2 separate regions of the Homo sapiens genome follow, and region 2 is linked to region 1. Evidence: promoter capture Hi-C in human tissues and cell types (Jung and others, 2019). All regions are on one chromosome and are shown on one strand. Each heading gives the region's core, a stretch centred on a gene start or on the middle of the fragment in contact. The rest is flanking DNA. Distances are from core to core; before and after follow the strand shown.

Region 1 (4,318 bases), core at 1-2,500:
GTGGGTACTGCCTGACCCTGCCCTCTCTTCCTCCCAACATCCTGGCCTGTCTGAAGGTGGAGAAAGCCTGGGCCCTCTTGCAGAAGCGCATTCCCAAGACTCATCAGGCCCTCGACTGAAAAGTTCTCAGTGGGGCCAGACTGGCTCCTGGAGCTGACAAGCGACCCCGTGGTGAGGAGAAATGGGGGCCTTGATGCTCACCCTGGTTCAGGCCCAGAGGTCCAAGCTATACTGTGCAGGACATGGCCAGGCCTGGTGGACACAGGAAGCCTACCCAACACGCTGGTATTTGGCCAACACTGAGGATGTGGTTCATGGGGGAGCAGTCCCCTCCCCACTCTTGCCCATGGGTGACTCTTACCCACAGCTGACTAGGGCCAGCGCAAATACTGGAACCTGTAACAGAATTAAAGGTGAATGTTCTGAGATGTTGCTTGTATGGTGTCTGCTTCCTGTTCCAATGCCCCTAAGTATCTTTGGGATCCTTAAGCCACAAGTGCAGGGCCCAGGCCTGAGCTGGAAGCCTGGGCAATGCAGTGGTTAAGAGAATGGCCTTTGAGGCTAGCCAGAGGCGAGCTTTGGCCCTCCCACTGACCAGCTGTGTTCTTCTGAGTAAGGTGTAGACTTTCTAGGTACTGCCGTGTTTTATTGTTTTTGTTTTGTTTTTAATATGAGAGGCCGCATAACCTAGCTAGCAGGTTCTTTGCAAGGGTTCATTCCACATGCATCCTGCCAGACACTGGGCTGGGTGTTGGAAGATCAGCCTTCCGCGCGCCAGGCGGGGCCTCTGCCCTCACAGAGCTTGCAGCCTGGTGGGGTCGGACGATGTGGCTGGGGGCTTCTCTGCCCGGTTCCTGACACACCGGCCAGCAGTGCAGGTCCGGTGAGCGCGGGGAGGCCGCCCTCAGGGTAACGTGGGGAGCCGGCCGGCCGGACAGTGCGCGTGCACACACTATCTGCGGCGGTGTGCTGACAAGCCAATTGAGGGGACTCCATCTTACAAAACGCGCTTCATGTCGCCGCCATTCCACTGCCTAACCCGGGGAGGGCAGGCACGGCGGGGAGCAGTCTCGAAGGAGGCTGGCGCCAGGCCAAGCGCCGGGCCTTGACGGCTGGAACCGTGGAGTAAAGTCTTTGGGCTGCGCATGCGCGATGCTTCGCCCTGCCCCACCTCTCGGTCGCGGATTGGCGGGCGCGGGTCACGTGGGCACGCCACCCGCTTCCTCGCCGCAGGGGGCCCGCCCGCTGGCCCGTTTCCGGTCCGGTGGGTACAAGATGACGGAGCCGGGCGCCTCTCCCGAGGACCCTTGGGTCAAGGCAAGCCCCGTGGGCGCGCACGCCGGCGAGGGGAGGGCGGGTCGGGCTCGTGCACGTAGGGGGGCCGGAAGACGAGGGGCTTCCCTCCTGTCCCCAAAGTCCCCCACGCTCTCCGTGCCCCGGGGCTGCAGAGAAGACAGCTCTCACCCCGCGTGTGCCAAGGTGGGGAGACAAACGAGGCGTGTGCGCGCGAGTCGGGGGAACGGGGCACTGGGGTGGAGTAGGGGCGGAAGGGATCATACACAGGGGAGGCACTCGCACGCCCTAGCCTGTGCCAGTCTCGGGGGACTCATTAAGCTGCCCGCGCACCCCGGGCTGTGTGTGTGCAAGCGCGCAGGGTGACAGAGGCGCCTTCCCGGAATGGGGGGCGCGCTGTGCGTGCCTGCAGTGGAAGGGGCGCCTCCCCCTAGGGGCGGAGGTCTGACGGGCCCTTCCCGTGCTCTGTGCCGCAGGTGGAGTATGCCTACAGCGACAACAGCCTGGACCCCGGTGAGTAGCTGCCCCATCTTAAGCTCTAGAGGGACACTCCCGCCCAGGCTCTCTAGATTCTTGTGGCGTTGCCAACCACGCCTGAGCACAGTCCACTCTCCCTGAGCAGAGTTCCTGGCTTGAGACAGCAGGAGCTGAAGGACAAGGGCAGAAAACAACTGAGGGTGACACCTAGTTCCCTCTGCTCTGGAACAGGGAAGTGGTGGAACTGATCACTCACCACTCAGTGGAGCAGCTGATCACTCACACCCTCATCACGTCCACATGCCCGTTTGTGAGCCAGGGGGGTATCATGCAGGCCTATGGAGCAGTGTAGACACTAGGGAGCAGAGCACTGCAGCGTGGTCTGGCAGGAAGTGGGGGGCCCAGTATGGTTGGCTTTGGGTTGAAGGGAAGAGGTCAGCATTTAAGAAAGCCATTGTGTGGCCGGGCGCGGTGGCTCACCCCTGTAATCCCAGCACTTTGGGAGGCCGAGGCAGGCGGATCACGAGGTCAGGAGACCGAGACCATCCTGGCTAACACGGTGAAACCCCGTCTCCACTAAAAAATACAAAAAAATTAGCCGGGCGTGGTGGCGGGCGCCTGTAGTCCCAGCTACTCGGGAGGCTGAGGCAGGAGAATGGCGTGAACCTGGGAGGCGGAGCTTGCAGTGAGCCGAGATCGCGCCACTGCACTCTAGCCTGGGCGACTGAGCGAGACTCTGTCTAAAAAAAAAATAAATAAATAAAAGAAAGCCATTGTGTCCTACAGGTGTCTGAGGGTCTGGCAATGTTCCCCACCCCACCCCTTAGTGATTGGGGCCTCTCTTTTCCAGGGCTTTTTGTAGAAAGCACCCGCAAGGGGAGTGTAGTGTCCAGAGCTAATAGCATCGGTTCCACCAGTGCCTCTTCTGTCCCCAACACAGGTAGGCAGTAACATCCCCCCCGACCTCGGGGGGCTCAGATATGTCATAATTGTAGTACCTTTCCTAGACAGGGAAGCCCCAGCCATCCACACAGGGGTGCTGGAGCCAAAGTATCAGACACAAGGTCTCACCATCTTTCACCTCATCTGGAACATTAGGTGGTTCTGTCCATCTGCCTTCTCTGGACACCAGGTTCTTCCCAGCTGGGGAAAGGTGGGCTAGCTGGACCCCACTGGGCCCCAAGATGACCTTTCCCTGCCCCCATCTCTGAGCGTAGATGATGAGGACAGTGATTACCACCAGGAGGCCTACAAGGAGTCCTACAAAGACCGGCGGCGGCGCGCACACACTCAGGCTGAGCAGAAGAGGAGGGACGCCATCAAGGTGAACAGGGAGGCCTGTGCCTCAGCCAGTGCGGGAGGGCCCTGCATAGTTTAGCTTCCCTGTGCCCTGACCCACTCAGACAGTCCCAGGCACCCTAGGGGGTGGGCAGGTAGTATAGTCCCAGGCACAAACACCTCCCTTGCAGCCTTCCCACCCCATTGAGTTTGTGAGCATAGAACTTGGTGTCATGGAGGAACTTTGTGCCATTTTGCTTTAATCTCTCAGGGTTAAAGAACCCATTTCCCCTGCTGTTTCCACAGAGAGGCTATGATGACCTTCAGACCATCGTCCCCACTTGCCAGCAGCAGGACTTCTCCATTGGCTCCCAAAAGCTCAGCAAAGCCATCGTTCTACAAAAGAGTATGGCTAGGGAAAGCACTGGAGGGGATGGAGCCAAGCGGGGCTGTGAAGAGGCCAGTGCCTCCTACCCACCCATGGCTCGGCCTTGGTGTGGTGATTGCCATGGGATAGTTGGGGTCTGGGGTAAGGGGAACAAAGTCAGCCTTATCTTCTTGGTTGAGAATACTTCTGTACCTGTCCTTTTTTTCTTGCCCCCACCCTAGCCATTGACTACATTCAGTTTTTGCACAAGGAGAAGAAAAAGCAGGAGGAGGAGGTGTCCACGTTACGCAAGGATGTCACCGCCCTAAAGATCATGAAAGTGTAAGAGGGGTGCTGAATGGGGGGAACCAGAACTTCTGAGGCAACTTCATTGCACACCCTCCCTTGTTCAAAGGCCACATCAGTTACTGCTGTACAGATAATACTCTTAGTTCCTGAGCTAGCCAGTAGGACTGTGTATCCCCAACTGTCCTTACACATGGCAGACACTCAGGAAATGCCTGTTGGATTAATGTAAGGAAGGTTGGAGAGAGAGGGCCACCTTTCCTGACCTGGAAGCAGTATCTCCCTGATACTGAACCCCACCCAGAAGCTCTCTGGGGCTGCCATTCCTGGGAGTACACAGGATAGTCCCGTCATTCTTCTTGGGTGGGCGGAGCTGCTGCAGCACCTCAGCCCTGGCCTGCATGCTTTTAGGAACTATGAGCAGATTGTGAAGGCACACCAGGACAACCCCCATGAAGGGGAGGACCAGGTCTCTGACCAGGTCAAGTTCAACGTGTTTCAAGGCATCATGGATTCCCTGTTCCAGTCCTTCAATGCCTCCATCTCAGTGGCCAGCTTCCAGGAGCTGTCAGCGTGTGTCTTCAGCTGGATCGAGGA
Region 2 (3,842 bases), core at 186-2,685, 260 kb before region 1:
CCTCGGAGGGCAGGTCTGCCCAGAGCTGAGTCCTTGTAAGCAGCCGCCATCTCCCTGTTCCCCTGTCACCTCCCACCCTGCAGTCACTGAAGAGGATCAAGCGTGCTGACCGGCGGGGTGCAGAGTCCGTGACAGAGGAGAAGTTCACAGTCCTGTTTGAGTCTCAGTTCAGTGTTGGCAGCAATGAGCTTGTGTTCCAGGTGAAGGTGAGACCCCCAGCCCTCCTGCCCCCACTGCTCCAGGTCACCCAAGAGGTGGAGGGGCCTGCCTCAGGACTCCTGGCAGCAATGCCATCGGACAGCCTGCTTTGACTCTGTGGGTCCCTGTTTGATAGGTTATAATCTGGGACTAACCCAGACAATTTAGGCAATGGGCTAAGAAGAAGTCGGTTGTAGTTTTTGTTTGTTTGCTTGTGCCTACATTTTGCTGGGAGGGGCTTGTGTTTGGAACTGTGGGTGAGGAAAGTGGGTTGGGACCAGGTGTGGTGGCTCTCACCTGTAATTCCAGCATTTTGGGAGGCAGAAGAGGGAGGACTGCTTGAGTCCAGGAGTTCAAGACTAGCCTGGGCAGCATAGTGAGAACCCGTATCTACAAAAAAAAGAAAAAAGTTGGGCATGGTGGCCTGCACCTGTAGTCCCAGCTATTCTGGAGGCTGAGGCAGGAGGATCACTTGAGCCCAGGAGGTCAAGGCTGCAGTGAGCTGTGATTGCACCACTGCCCTCCAGTCTGGGCGACCGAGCGAGACCCTGTCTCGAAGAAAATAAAGCAGATTGCGGCCATGGGTGGTGGGTCTTGCCTGTAATCCCAGCACTTTGGGAGGCCAAGGAGGGTGGATCACCTGAGGTCAGGGGTTCGAGATCAACCTGACCAACATGGAGAAACCCCGTCTCTACTAAAAATACAAAATTAGCCAGGTGTGGTGACACATGCCTGTAATCCCAGCTACTTGGGAAGCTGAGGCAGGAGAATCGCTTGAACCCGGGAGGCAGAGGTTGTGGTGAGCCGAGATTGCACCATTGCACTCCAGCCTGGGCAACAAGAGTGAAACTCCATATCAAAAAAAAAAATACATAAAAAAAAATAAAGCAGATTGGGCATGTTGCCTAAGCAGAGGGCACGTGGTGGTCACGCCCCATCAACTTGGGTTCCTTTGACTCCTGTAGACTCTGTCCCTACCTGTGGTTGTCATCGTCCACGGCAGCCAGGACCACAATGCCACGGCTACTGTGCTGTGGGACAATGCCTTTGCTGAGCCGGTGAGTCCCCGTGGGAGCCCTACCCCAGCACCCCCAGGCCCTAGGACTCACCTGGGGTCAGCCCCACCCCTTGGGCCCCTGCTGAGTGGTCCTTCCTCACCCCAGGGCCAGCCCAGAGGTGAGGTGAGGCCAGAAGGGCTGGGGTGCTGGGCGCCTGCCTTCCACCATGGCCTTGGCACTCTGGGTTCCAGGTTCCTGGACTGGGGTCTGTGAGGACTGTGAGCTTGGTCTTTGGATCCTGGTCTGGGATCCTCCTTTGGCAGATGGCTTGGGTCCTTGCTCTCTGTTTTCTGTTTCCTGGTCTGCATCTCTGTCCCTGCATGCCCCCACCCCCTGCATCGGTTTTCTTCCCTGCAGGCTGGGAAAAAAAGTGCAAGCTAGTATATAAAAGCCGCCGCATTTCCTGCCCTTGCATTTGTGTCACCTTTCTGGATCTGTCTCAGTCTCCTCTGTCTCTAGGTGTCTGTGTATCTTGTGTGTGTGTGAATATTTCCAACTCCCTCAATCTACCTTTTCCCCTCTCTTGTCTCCCTCTCAGGGCAGGGTGCCATTTGCCGTGCCTGACAAAGTGCTGTGGCCGCAGCTGTGTGAGGCGCTCAACATGAAATTCAAGGCCGAAGTGCAGAGCAACCGGGGCCTGACCAAGGAGAACCTCGTGTTCCTGGCGCAGAAACTGTTCAACAACAGCAGCAGCCACCTGGAGGACTACAGTGGCCTGTCCGTGTCCTGGTCCCAGTTCAACAGGGTGAGGGGCCCAGCTGCCAGCCGCCCACCAGGGCCCACCGGGGTCTGTTGCTCCTCCACCTCACAGACAGGTTACTGCCTGGGGCTAGCACCCCACTCTCCACCCCCAACCACTCTCTCCTACAACCAGGAGAGATGGGGGCCCCTAGCCTCAAGAAATGCAGGCAGGGGCTATAGGAGTTGTGCTTAGTTGTGAAGCCAAGAGCGAGATGACGGAGGGCCCAGGGCTGGGAGTCAGGATCCTTGGGTTCTGGGCCTAGATGTGTTTGCTAATTTTCTTTTTTTTTTTTAGAGACAGAATCTCATTCTGTCACCCAGGCTGGAGTGCAGTGGCGTGATTTCAGCTTACTGTAACCTCTGCCTCCCGGGTTCAAGTGATTCTCGTGCCTCAGCCTCCTGAGTAGCTGGAATTATAGGTGCCTGCCACCATGCTGGGCTAATTTTTGTATTTTTAGTAGAGATGGGGTTTCACCATGTTGGTCAGGCTGGTCTCGAACTCCTGACCTCAGGTGATCCGCCCACCTCGGCCTCCCAAAGTGCTGGGATTACAGGCGTGAGCCACCACGCCTGTGGCTCTGGCTCTCCTTCTGCCTCTCTCCTTGCTAATTTTTGAAGACCCATCCATTCTCTGTGCCTCAGTTTCCCCACCTGTAAAATGAGGGGATGACTTTGGAGGAATGACTTTGGAGGCCCCATCCAGCCTAGATTATTCTTTACACCTCTTACTCCCACCCTTGGGCTGGTCTTGGACCCCTGTGTCTTAGAAGTGAGTTTCCTCTCTGTTTTCCTAGGGTACAAGTTGGGGGCTGTGTCACTTTATGGTCTGCTGGAGTGTGGTGGCAAGCAGGGGTGAAGAACTGGGAGAAGACTGGGTGGGGGCAGGAGGGCCCTGACTTTCCTGGGCCACCTGTGACCTGGGGCACCAGCCCTGACTCGGGGGTTCCTGGGCCCTCAGGAGAACTTGCCGGGCTGGAACTACACCTTCTGGCAGTGGTTTGACGGGGTGATGGAGGTGTTGAAGAAGCACCACAAGCCCCACTGGAATGATGGGTAAGGAACGGGGGCTGCAGGGTCAGGGGCCAGCTGTGGGCGCAGAGAGACTGTGGCTGTGGCCCAGTGGTGACGCTCAATGCTCCGTGCACCCAGGGCCATCCTAGGTTTTGTGAATAAGCAACAGGCCCACGACCTGCTCATCAACAAGCCCGACGGGACCTTCTTGTTGCGCTTTAGTGACTCAGAAATCGGGGGCATCACCATCGCCTGGAAGTTTGACTCCCGTGAGTGCCCGTTTTGCCCACACTCCAGCCCCAAGGCCCGGTCTCTTGTTCCCTTGCCCCGCCACCCCACCCTCCATCGGGCCTGTGTCCTTAGAAGGTACCCAGCGGGAAGCTTAGTATGAGAGGGCTGTGGCTTGGAAATGTATTCTCTTTCTATTGTTTTCCATTTTGGAGAACCTGAAGTCCCCAGCCCCATAGACTCCAGGACGGCTGGGCGAGTCCTCCTGCAGTTTCACGCTCTCCCCTCTCTGCCACGACCCAGCCTTGTTGGTATCTGCTCATCTGGTTTGCTGAGTAGAACATCCCGCATCGGCTTTCTTCCCTACAGGCTGGGGCTGCAGCGCAAGCTACTATATAAAAGCCCAGATTTCTCTTGCAAGCCTGCCCTAAAGCCCCACAACCTTGGTCCTCCTGCTGCTGGTGGATTATGGGAATGAGGCTGTTCTTTTCACAGCGGAACGCAACCTGTGGAACCTGAAACCATTCACCACGCGGGATTTCTCCATCAGGTCCCTGGCTGACCGGCTGGGGGACCTGAGCTATCTCATCTATGTGTTTCCTGACC

What was found. The method cuts DNA at HindIII sites, captures the fragments that hold promoters and counts their contacts. A contact is called where the count stands out against the background at its distance.
Region 2: a fragment that was not itself captured here is called in contact with the fragment with the promoter of MLX in region 1 in 1 of the 25 tissues and cell types used here (IMR-90 fibroblasts).

The regions. Positions count from the first base shown.
Region 1 is chr17:42,565,850-42,570,167 of GRCh38, forward strand. MLX (MAX dimerization protein MLX) reads left to right here and starts at 1,251. Exons shown (of 8, transcript NM_198204.2): 1 at 1,251-1,317; 2 at 1,770-1,806; 3 at 2,621-2,710; 4 at 2,988-3,094; 5 at 3,355-3,454; 6 at 3,658-3,757; 7 at 4,133-4,318. The coding sequence starts at 1,276. COASY (Coenzyme A synthase) reads left to right here. Exons shown (of 9, transcript NM_025233.7): 9 at 57-428. The coding sequence ends at 119. RefSeq lists enhancers at 1-9, 10-516, 723-772, 1,530-2,037, 1,913-2,002 and a silencer at 1,113-1,512. The HindIII fragment of the contact is 10,895 bases long and covers 1-4,318 here.
Region 2 is chr17:42,304,447-42,308,288 of GRCh38, forward strand. STAT5A (signal transducer and activator of transcription 5A) reads left to right here. Exons shown (of 19, transcript NM_001288718.2): 11 at 84-206; 12 at 1,164-1,256; 13 at 1,795-2,001; 14 at 2,956-3,050; 15 at 3,147-3,277; 16 at 3,732-3,842. Among named protein-coding and RNA genes, the nearest start is that of STAT5A, 18 kb to the left of the region's middle. The HindIII fragment of the contact is 6,096 bases long and covers 1-3,842 here.